2 separate regions of the Homo sapiens genome follow, and region 2 is linked to region 1. Evidence: promoter capture Hi-C in 16 types of primary human blood cells and fetal thymus (Javierre and others, 2016). All regions are on one chromosome and are shown on one strand. Each heading gives the region's core, a stretch centred on a gene start or on the middle of the fragment in contact. The rest is flanking DNA. Distances are from core to core; before and after follow the strand shown.

What was found. The method cuts DNA at HindIII sites, captures the fragments that hold promoters and counts their contacts. A CHiCAGO score of 5 or more calls a contact.
Region 2: a contact is called between a fragment that was not itself captured here and the fragment with the promoter of NTN1 in region 1, in 2 of 17 cell types (total CD4 T cells and naive CD4 T cells). The highest score is 5.7, in total CD4 T cells.

What each region holds. Positions count from the first base shown.
Region 1 is chr17:9,018,449-9,024,336 of GRCh38, forward strand. It overlaps NTN1 (netrin 1), which reads left to right and starts at 3,062. Exons shown (of 7, transcript NM_004822.3): 1 at 3,062-3,137; 2 at 3,863-4,943. The coding sequence starts at 3,926. RefSeq lists silencers at 2,424-2,473, 2,524-3,313 and an enhancer at 2,460-3,003. The HindIII fragment of the contact is 7,248 bases long and covers 623-5,888 here.
Region 2 is chr17:8,772,298-8,778,185 of GRCh38, forward strand. No RefSeq gene overlaps it. Among named protein-coding and RNA genes, the nearest start is that of SPDYE4, 17 kb to the left of the region's middle. The HindIII fragment of the contact is 3,094 bases long and covers 2,015-5,108 here.

The DNA.
Region 1 (5,888 bases), core at 1,812-4,311:
TGGTGAAACCCCGTCTCTACTAAAAATACAAAAAAATTAGCCAGGTGTGGTGGTGGGTACCTGTAATCCCAGCTACTTGGGAGGCTGAGGCAGGAGAATCGCTTGAACCCGGGAGGCAGAGGTTGAGAATGCGCCATTGCACTCCAGCCTGGGCAATAGGGCAAGACTCCATCTTAAAAAAAAAAAAAAAAAAAAAGGCTCTGTGGACAGAAACAACATTCAGGAGGAAGGCTTGGAAAGCACTTCTCAATCCAGTCTTGTAGATGCTCCAAAAGGTACCCCAGTCAGCTGAGCACCCCAATTTGCTTCTTTTCCATTCCTCTTTGCTGGAATGTCTTTTCCTGACTTGGGTTTTGATGCGATGCCATCAGCTTACATTCAGGGGGATCACAGAAACTGTCCAACCGAGCTCACTGTTGTGACTGTTTTGGGGATGTTGTCAGGGACGTTTGCTCATTACCCCATACTGTGTTCCCTTTCTGGGCCACGCCCCCACAAGAAATTCCTATCTGATTTTAGTACCAAGAATAGTTGTAATTCCCTTGAGCAGTAGGTCTGTTTTTATCTCATGGACACTGGGAATTGTGTAATGAACATGGTCTCCTCATTTTAGCTGCAGGAAAGCTTAGGGACAAATTTGTGGCCCACTCAGAAGAGGTGTAGAGGTTGGAACTCCAGGGTGCATTGGACCTGTATCCTCCTCTCGACTTTGTCTCCCTTCTTAGCTTTTCTTTGTTCTCTTACTTCATATTTTACTGTGCAAAACTGAGAGCATACAAGCAAAGATAAATAAAAATCACCTGTAATCTCATTATTCCGAGATAACCACTATTAACTGTGTTGTCTTTTTATGCATACTTTTTAAAAAATTAAAATGACATTATACTGTGTGTTTTTAATTTGCTTTTTTCATATTATAATATGTCATGAACATCTTTCCCTGTAATTAAGTGTTCTCTAAATGATTTAAAATTTCTGTATAGATCAAGCGACCTCATACTAACAGCTAACATTTCTATATGCATGTACTATGTGCCTGGTTTTATGCATATTTACATTTGCATACATGAGAAAGCCTATTTATATGTGTTACAGACCTGCAATATGTATGTCTATATCCCATCAGCTATAATATTCAAATGTGTCAACTCACGTGATGCTCACAACCCAGTGGGGTAGAAAGTATTATCTCCCTTGTACAGATGGAGGAAACCAAGGCATAGACTTTCCATAGTCACACAGCAGAGGCAGAATTTGAACCCAGGTACCCTGGCTCCGAAGCGTTTCCTCCTAAGAGCTATGCTGCCTTTCAGTATACCATTGCGATTTCACAGGTCACCATGGTTAACCATTTCATTTATTTCCTTTGACCTCACTTTTAATTTGTTATTGTGTCATATTTTATGTACCCTTGTAAGTTACCTGAAATCCTTTCTGCCACAAGGTGAGGTAAGGCATAAATAAACAGTGCAGAGTGTGGTAAACGGCACAAGAAGGCACAGCTAAATTGCTACCCCGGGGTAAGAAGATGAATCCAGGCTGTCCTGCAATGGAATGGATTTATTTTCTTGAGCTGTGGTGAGCTCCCATCCCTGGAAGAGCTGGCTTGGGTGGCCGTCTCTCTGGGAGGCTGGGGAAGGCCTTCTTCCAAGGAGACGGAGCTGGGCCAGACGAGCCCCGAGGCCCCTTCTTAGATTCTCAGGGTTTATGAAAATGCCAATAAGACAAACTGAGGCACTTAATGGAGCTAATGCAGCAAGGCAGCCCTTGGGCCGGAACCAGGACCTGGGGCTTTTCATCCGGGTCTATTACTGGACCACACATCTACAAGTAACAAATAAACGAGCAGAGATTCCGTTCCAAACTCTCGGCCCAGTGTATTCCTTTCCCAGAGCTCTCTGGCTGCTGTTGCAAGATGACCAAAGGATGCTGTCACTGTCCTCAGTCTTTTTATTGGGGCGATGGAGAATGAGGCAAGGAGGGGCTGGGTGGCCCCGCAGATGCCCCATGACACCATCATTCGGCAAGGTTATGCATTTGACGAATGCCCTGCAGTGGAAGGAGCCCAGGCTTCTCTTCCTGTTTTTGATGTTTACTTGGGGGTTGATCTTGTGCGAGTTTCTTCAGCTCCCGGGACCCTCAGTTTCCTCATCTGCAAAATGGAGTTAATACAACAGCAAAGCTGCTGTGGAGGTCCCATGAGCTATTACAGGGCTTTGCACCCTTAAAAATGCGGTTGAGGAAGTACCGATACGCCTGCCTCAGGGGATCTGGGGAGGGCTGGGCTGTCCCCATGCCTGAGACCAGGCAGGCCCGTCTTGGAGGGGCGGTGGCCAGCGTCCAGGTGCTGCCAGCTTCCTACCCCTTCAGCCTCCTGCCCACCACTGCTCCCTTGGCTAGAACGAAGCCGCGTTCCCGACAGACAGGCTCACGCACGGTGATATCCGTGGGAGTGCGGGCGAGCAGCCCCTCCTCGCCGGACCCCGGGGGCTTCGGGCAAAAATGGAGAGCAGGCAGAGGTCACATCCTCCTCCTCTTCCTCACGCTCCCGGGCTGCGTGCCCACAGGGGCACAGCCCTGTGCGCGGTGCCACCGGGGGCCATCAGGCTGGGTTAGAGGAAGGCCCGACCTCCGCGCAGCAAAGAAAACAAACACAGATGTGTTTGGCTGGGACCGGGAGGGAGAAAGTGGCCCCCTTCCCCCGCCCGCGCGCTCCCCCGGGCGTGAGGCTCTCCGGGCGGCGCGGGGCGCGGGCGAGGCTGACAGTCCCCGGCGGCCCCTCCTCCCCCACGGGGTGCGCGCCTGGCCCGGCCCAGCCCCCTCTCCGGGGTTTCCCCGGGTGCTCTCCTCGCTTTCTCTTTGTCTCTGCTGTTCTTTCTCGGGCTCCCGGGTTCCCACCCGCCTGTGCTCTCCCTCTCGGGCGTCCGGGCCGGTTCCCTTTAACTTTCTTCTTTCCCGGGGTGAAAACTTTGCTCGGAGCTGGCGGCAGCTCGCGGACGTTATTGGCCGGCGCCCCGCCCGGCGGCCCCGCCCCCCGCCCCCGCGCTCCCCTCCGCCCCTCACTCCCAGCGCGAGTGGCGGCGGCGGCGGAGCCTTCGGGGGCGAGCGCGCGTGTGTGTGAGTGCGCGCCGGCCAGCGTGAGTGTGTGTGCGCCCCGGGCGCGGGCAGGGCAGCACTCCGAGCTCGGCGGGAGCGGCGGGAGCCGGGCGGCCGCGTAGTCACTCGGGCGAGAGAGGCGGCGGCGGGGCCGGGACCGGGGCTGGGGCTGGGGCAGCGGCGGCCGCGCCGGGCATGGAGCTGGCAAGCCCGCGCTGAGGCGGGACGCGCCTGCTAGCAGCGAGCGAGAGGCTCTCCGGCGACCGGCGCGCGGGCTCCCCGGAGGGGCCAGGCAAACTTTTCTTTCTCTTTTGCCCCCTCCAGAGGTAAAGTCCCGAACGCGGACTTTCCGGCGGGGACGCGATCGGGGGGCATCTGAGAGGGACCCCGGGCTGCGAGACGAAGGGGCGCGGGCCGTGCAGAGTCGGGGTCCCCCAGCTCTCCTGCGCCCGAAACTTGGGGTGCGAGGGGGGCTGGTCGCGGACGGGGAGACCGGCTCAGGCATGCCCCTCGGGCGGCGTGGGGGCGGCGGTGGCGGGGAAGCAGAGCGTTCTCCCGCCGGGCGGGGAAGAAGGGGCGCGAGCGGTGCGGACTTGGAGGGCCCCGGCTTCGCCGCCCGCGGGACTTTGGGGGAGAGAGGCGGGCAGTCGGCTGCGGGGTGGGTGCCCAGGAAGCCGGGCGTTCTCCCGCATCTCCGCTCGCCACCCCGCCGAGAGCTGGAGGGCGCGGGGCGGGCTGGCTGAGCGCAGCTCCCTTCTCTCCGCAGGCGCCTTCTGCGGCAGGCGGACAGATCCTCGGCGCGGCAGGGCCGGGGCAAGCTGGACGCAGCATGATGCGCGCAGTGTGGGAGGCGCTGGCGGCGCTGGCGGCGGTGGCGTGCCTGGTGGGCGCGGTGCGCGGCGGGCCCGGGCTCAGCATGTTCGCGGGCCAGGCGGCGCAGCCCGATCCCTGCTCGGACGAGAACGGCCACCCGCGCCGCTGCATCCCGGACTTTGTCAATGCGGCCTTCGGCAAGGACGTGCGCGTGTCCAGCACCTGCGGCCGGCCCCCGGCGCGCTACTGCGTGGTGAGCGAGCGCGGCGAGGAGCGGCTGCGCTCGTGCCACCTCTGCAACGCGTCCGACCCCAAGAAGGCGCACCCGCCCGCCTTCCTCACCGACCTCAACAACCCGCACAACCTGACGTGCTGGCAGTCCGAGAACTACCTGCAGTTCCCGCACAACGTCACGCTCACACTGTCCCTCGGCAAGAAGTTCGAAGTGACCTACGTGAGCCTGCAGTTCTGCTCGCCGCGGCCCGAGTCCATGGCCATCTACAAGTCCATGGACTACGGGCGCACGTGGGTGCCCTTCCAGTTCTACTCCACGCAGTGCCGCAAGATGTACAACCGGCCGCACCGCGCGCCCATCACCAAGCAGAACGAGCAGGAGGCCGTGTGCACCGACTCGCACACCGACATGCGCCCGCTCTCGGGCGGCCTCATCGCCTTCAGCACGCTGGACGGGCGGCCCTCGGCGCACGACTTCGACAACTCGCCCGTGCTGCAGGACTGGGTCACGGCCACAGACATCCGCGTGGCCTTCAGCCGCCTGCACACGTTCGGCGACGAGAACGAGGACGACTCGGAGCTGGCGCGCGACTCGTACTTCTACGCGGTGTCCGACCTGCAGGTGGGCGGCCGGTGCAAGTGCAACGGCCACGCGGCCCGCTGCGTGCGCGACCGCGACGACAGCCTGGTGTGCGACTGCAGGCACAACACGGCCGGCCCGGAGTGCGACCGCTGCAAGCCCTTCCACTACGACCGGCCCTGGCAGCGCGCCACAGCCCGCGAAGCCAACGAGTGCGTGGGTGAGTGGGGTGCGGCGGCGGAGCCGGCGGCGGGTGGGGCCGCGGGCGGGAGCTGCTGGGCCTCGCAGCGGCGAGTTCATAGGAGCGCGGGTCGAGGGAACGGCGGGAGGCGCGTTCGCCGATGCCCGGGACCCGGGAGGGCTCAGAGCAGGTCCACTCGCTCGCGTGGCGCTCGTGGTGGACGCCCGAATTTGCGCCCAGTGCTCTCTGCGAAGCCAAGAAGCAGCAGGAGAAATGTTCCCGGGAGGGGGTTTGGCAGAACATTTGCAGATAGGTCTCCGCTAACCCTGGATCCAAACGCAAACATTCATTGCCTTCCCCCTCGTTGGGTTGGACGCTGGGATTCACCTGCACCCACCCCCCTTTCCCAAGGCTGCAGCTGGGCTCGCGGTTGGGGACCCCGGCCCAGTTCCTGGGAAGTTCCAACTCCACACCTACAAATCCCTTGGGAGATGGCAAAGAACTGTTTGTAGTTTGGGGTCAGTTCGGTACCCGACGAGTATCACTCCTGCCCTCCATTTGTCTTTTCATGATTTGAAACTATTTTTGTCTCTCTTTTGAACAGCGTGTTTGTGTTAGCAAAAGAAGAATGATGTGATTTCAATTAATTACTATCTGCTGATTACAACGGAGCGTTCAGTAATTATTTTAAACGAATTCAATTCTGGTCTAAAAAAGTATACCAGATTTTTTTTATTAGCTTCAGGCTTTGGTGAAATTAAACAGTTTTGAATTAACTAAGGGTCCAGCTTCTCACTTTTTAAATAGGGTTTCATTTCCTGAAAGAGAAATCTGACAAAACCGGGTGAATACGGCTGGGTCAGAAATGAAGCTAAAAAAGGATACGTTCTGCTTCTGAATTGGACGACTTTGCTGCTGCAGAAGCTCTCAGAAATCAGTTTCTCCCCATAAAAAGAAAAAAAGGGTGAGGGGAGGTAGCAAGAC
Region 2 (5,888 bases), core at 2,312-4,811, 250 kb before region 1:
TCCAAATCACTTACTGACTAGTCCTTTTCTTCATGAAAATTTTCTGTTCTGTCAGTATGTCTATTCATGTGGTTTTACATCTTTTAGGGCTGGTCCAATCTCACTGTACTTCTCTTTTAGTCTTCATAGCTATTCTTGTTTATTTTTCCATATCAACTTTAGAATCAGTTTTTCTAGTTCCAAACAGAGCAATCAACTAAACAGCAGCAACAACAAAAGCCAGCCAGCTAATATTTTTATTAGTACTGCATTAAATGTACAAATGAATGTAGACCATCTTTGTGATGCTGAATCGCCTATTGAAAATGGTAAACTTTTTCTTTTGTCTTAATTTTTTTTTTTTTTTTTTTTTTTGAGACAGAGTCTTGCTCTATCACCCAGGCTGGAGTGCAGTGGCACAATCTCAGCTCACTGCAACCTCCACTTCCCAGGTTCAAGCGAGTCTCATGCCTCAGCCTCCTGAGTAGCTGGGATTACAGGCATGTGTCACCATGCCCAGCTAATTTTTTGTATTTTTAGTAGAGACAGGGTCTCGCCATGTTGGCCAGGCTGGTCTCGAACTTCTGGCCTCAAGTGATCCACCCGTCTCAGTCTCCCAAAGTGCTGGGATTACAAGCATGAGCCACTGTGCCTAGCCAAGGCCTGTTTTAATTTTTAATTTTAACTTTTGTGGGTACATAATAGGAGTATATATTTATGAGGTACACGAGATGCTTTGATATAGGCATGCGATGTATAATAATCACATCATGTAACATGGGCTGTCTAGCCTATTAAGCATTTATCCTTCGTGTTACAAATAATCCAATCATACTCTTATTTTTAAATGTATAATTAAATTATTATTGACTATAGTCATCCTATTGTGCTATCAAATACAAGGTCTTATTCATTCTTTTCAACTAAACTTTTTCATTTGTTTCAGTCTTCTTTTTTTGTCTTTCAATAGAATTTTAAAGTTTTCTTTATATAGGTCTTGTACGTTTTTTGTTAAGTTCATTCCTAAATATGCTATTATTTAGTCGTTGTTGAGACAGAAAATTCTAAAAGCTCCCAGAGAAAAAGAAACAATAACCACATTGACATCAAACTTCTCAACATCAAACTGAAAACAATTGAGTAATATTTTCAAATGACTGAAGGACAAGAGCGTTTCAAAACCTAGTATTTTGTATGCATTCTAACTACTATTAAAATGTGATTATGAATTAAAAATATTTTCAGGCACATAAATTCTCAAAACATTTACCACATCAAGATCTTCTTTGAAACCATTTAACAAATTGCTTTCTTAGTGTCTGCCCTAGGGATTACAATTAGCATTTTAATTTCCAAAAAAACTACTTCAAATTAATACTAACTTAATTTCAGTAATCTACAAAATCTTTGCTCCAATATACCTCCGTTCCCTCCCTGCTTCTTTGTGCCAATATGGTTATGCAAATTTCATCTTTATACTTTATACAGCTATCAGTACAGTTTTATAATTATTGCTTTATGCAGTTGATTTTAAAAAGAGAAAGAGTTAAATCAGAAAGAGAGAAGAGTTATAAACAAAAATATGTTTATACTGCCTTTTATATTTATCCATTTAGTAACCTTTACTGGTGCTTTTTATTTTTTCATGTGGATTCAAGTTACTGTCTAATGTCCTCTCATTTCAGCCTGAAGGGCTCCCTTTTGTATTTCTGATAAGCTCTACTAGTGATGAGTGCTCTCAGTTTTTGTTTATCTGGAAATATCTTAACATCTTTATTTTTGAAGTAGAGTTTTGTTGTATAGAGAATTCTTGATTGAGAATCTTTTGACACATTGAAGTTGTCATCCCAGTCTTCCTGCCTTCATGATTTCTAATAAGACGTTAGCTGTCAATCTCACTGAAGATCTCTTGGACACAATAGGTTGTTTTCCTCTTGCTGTTTTCAAGGTTTTCTTTTTGTCTTTGACTTTCACCCACTTGACTATGATGTGTCTAGTGTGGATCTCTTTGAGTTTTTCTAGTTGGGGTTTGTTAAGCTTCTTGAGGTATGTACACTAGCGGTTTTCCCCACACTTGGGAAATTTTTAGTCATTACTCCAAATATTTTTTATTTCTCTTTATGCTTCTTTTCTTCTTCTGGAACACTCATTAAATATATGTTGGTATGCTTGATGATATCCCACAGGTCTCTGAGGCTGTGTTTATTTTTCTTCATTCTGTTTTTACTCTGTTCCTCAGATAGATAATCTTTACTGACTTATCTTTGACTTTGCCAATTCTTTCTTTTGACAGCTCAAATTTGCTATCAATCCCCTTTAGTGAATTTTTCATTTCAGTTATTGTATTTCTCCACTCTAGGATTTCTATTTGGCTTTTTTGGGGGTAATTTCTATTTCTTTGTTGATATTCTCTATTTGGTGAGATATTGTTGTCATCTTTTTCTTGAATTCTTTAGGCATGGTATTCTTTCATTCTTTGAACATATTTTAAATAGTTGATTTAAAGTCTTTGTCTACTAAACTTGACATCTGTGTGCCCTAAGGGATATTTTCTGACGGCTGTTTATTTAACTGTGTATGTGGTATACTTTTCTGTTTCTTTGCATGTCTTATAAATTACTGATGAAAATGAACTTTTTTTTTTTTTTTTTTTTGAGATGGAGTCTTGCTCTGTCACCCAGGCTGGAGTGCAGTGGCATGATCTCGGCTCACTGCAACCTCTGCCTCCTGGGTTCACACCATTCTCCTGCCTCAGCCTCCCGACTAGGTGGGACTAGAGGCGCCCACCACCACGCTCGGCTAAGTTTTTGTAGTTTTAGTAGAGATGGGGTTTCACCATGTTAGCCAGGATGGTCTCCATCTCCCGACCTCGTGATCTGCCCACCTTGGCCTCCCAAAGTGCTGGGATTACAGGCGTGAGCCACTGCGCCCGGCCGAAACTGAACATTTTTGATAGTGCTATGGCTCGGTTATATTTTGTCCTCGTCCAAACTCTTGCTGAAATTTGATCCCCAATGTGGCAGTGTTGAGAGGTGGGCCTAGTGGGAGATGTTTGGGTCGTGAGGGTGGATTCCTCATGAATATATTCATGCTTTCCCATGGGGGTTAGTGAGTTTTCCGTCTTGTGGGAATCAATTAGTTCCCATGAAAGCACGTTGTTTAAAATGGTCTGATTTCCTCGATTCCTCTCTCTTGCTCCCCTTCTCGCCATGTGATCTCTTTGCACATGCTCACTTCCCCCTGGCTTTCTGCCATGAGCTGAAGCAGCCCAAGGTCTCATCAAATAGAGATGCCCAATCTTGAACTCTCTAGCCATCAAAATCATGAGCCAAATAAACCTATTTTCTTTTTCCTTTCTCTTTTTTGAGACAAGGTCTTGCTCTGTCACCCAGGATGGAATGCAGTGGTGCAATCACAACTCACTGTAGCCTTGACCTCCTTGGCTCATGCAATCCTCCCACCTCAGCCTCCTAAGTAGCTGGGACTACAGATGTGAACCACCATGCCTGGCTAGTATTTTATTTTTTTTGTAGAGATGGAGTCTCACTATGTTTCCCAGACTAGTCTTGAACTCCTGGGCTTAAGCACTGCTCCTGCCTCAGTCTCACAAAGTTCTGGGGTTATAGGAATGAGCCACTAGGCCCACTATCTTTTTAAAAATAAGCTACCCACCCAGTCTCAGGCATTCTGTCATAGCAATATGACAGACTAAGATAGATAGTATATTGTAACAACATGGTATGAGATACCCTCCCCCAGGTTTGTTGCTATTGCTGCTTTTTATGTCATTGCTTTCCTGTTTGCTTCTTATGTGCTTAGTGCCTTTCCTGGACTAATTCTGTAGATTCTATATTCCCTGCAATATGCAGGTCCTGAGTTCTCTGTTAGCATTTTAAAGAAGGGTTATTATTTTCATTTTTAAGTCTGGTTTCCTAGGGTTCAGTCCTAGGTCAGTATAATTTAGTGGTCAGCCAATAATGATTGGTCTGAAGATTTCCCTAAATGCTTTGTCTGTATATCTTTCACCATTTGCCAAGGGGATCTGTAGCTGAAGGCACAGCTTCACACTTCAGGTAGTTTATAAGACAGCCTTAGCTTTCACTTTTTGCTTGTACAGGGACTCAGGTTCAGCCAGAGGTGAATGAGTGGGGCCTTCTTCTTTCCAAGGTCTTTCCCAAGCATGCATATGAGTACAGCCTTCTACATCCCCAGGAATATGTTGGAGCTTTTTAAAGTTCCCTGTGGTTTTCTAGTTCTCAAGAGCTTCCTTTTAAATTTTTATTGCTGTTGGCCAGGCTCTTGTTTGCTGCAACCAGAGTCACAGACTTAGGCAGCTGAGATATTGCCATCAGATTGCTATTGTTTTTGGCAATGCCCTGGGACAGCTTTTTTGTTGTTGTTGTTGTTTTTGTCCATGAGCTGAGTTGTGAATCAAATGAAATAGCCACAACATCTTGGGAACAGAGATTTTCCAGGTAGCTGCTAATTTGGACAAAATATTGAGTGTGCTCTAGGCATGGGGCTTTTAATGGAGCTCCAAAAGAGGTCAGTCATCTCCATTAGCTCCATGTCTGCTGGCTTTTCATGGCTACTGGGCCACCAAGCTGGAGAGGGAGAGAGGATGGGAATAGCTTCAAGTTAAAATGCCACAGACACCATTGTCTTATTGAAGTTCAGTATTTTTCTCTTGGATGGATGATTTTCAGTTCCTTCTGTGGCTTTGGTATACTTCCAAAGTTCTGAAATGGTTGATTTGAGTTGTTTTTGCCAGTATTTTTGTTGTTTTTAAGGGATAATGGCTCACCAAGTTCCTCATTTCACCATTTTAGAAGGCAATCTCCCTTGATAGCATTTTAAAAAGAGAAGTACCCCAGTAAGATGGGAAATGAATACAAGATGAAGTAATGAGATATGCAAGGTAAAGGGGAGAAACGTATCTTACAAAAGTATATTGTTACCTAAATTAGCAATCCCTCCTCCTGAAAAATTTATATATCATAGATAATTCAGAAATATAACCCGAAACCAGAAGCATGGTAGGGAAGAGGAGTGGGAAACTGTTAGTAGGAAAGTCTAGAGGGTGATGGGAGTATGCCAATGCACTTGTTCTGTTTAAGGAAGAGTTATTAAGCTTAAAATGCTGTTAAGCTTAAGAAGTTGACAAGGGAAAGAATAAACATAAGTAAGGGTCATAATAAGTTAGGGTCAACAATGAGAAAAGTATACATAGAATGTATTATATTCTAAAAAACAAATTTAACATAGTCAATGGAAAGTATAAAATCCAAACATTTCAATGGAAGAAAACAATTTTGAATTATCCCAAAGAGGATGGAAAGCAGTAAAAAGAAAGTACAGTAAATAGAAAACACAAAACGAGACAGCAGAAATAAGTTCCAAGATAACATTAATTAACATAAATATAGGTTAATTCAACCCAGAAATCAAAATAAAGAGACTCTGATTGAATATAAAAACAAAATCCAATAAAATACTGTTAGCAAAAGATAATTTATGCAAAGTTGGAAAGTAAAAGGTTAAAAAAATCTAGGCACATTAAAAAAAGAAAGAACTCCAAGGTAGCAATTTTAACATCAGAAGAAAAATTAATTTAGGGCAAAAATAACATACAGGACAAATAGAGATGTTATATACTAACAAGGGATAATAAATCAAGAAGAAATAACAATCATAAACACATATGCATCCAACAATGTAGCCTCAAAATGTATACTGGGGAAATAGATATATGAACAATTATATGCAGAGATTTTAGCACAGCTCTTTCAGAATATGAATCAAGAAGGCCAAAGATAAGCAAGATAGAATATTTGAATAATATATTTAATAATTTTGAACTAAAACATACACACACAAACATATGCTTTTATACTTAACAAAGGAAATAT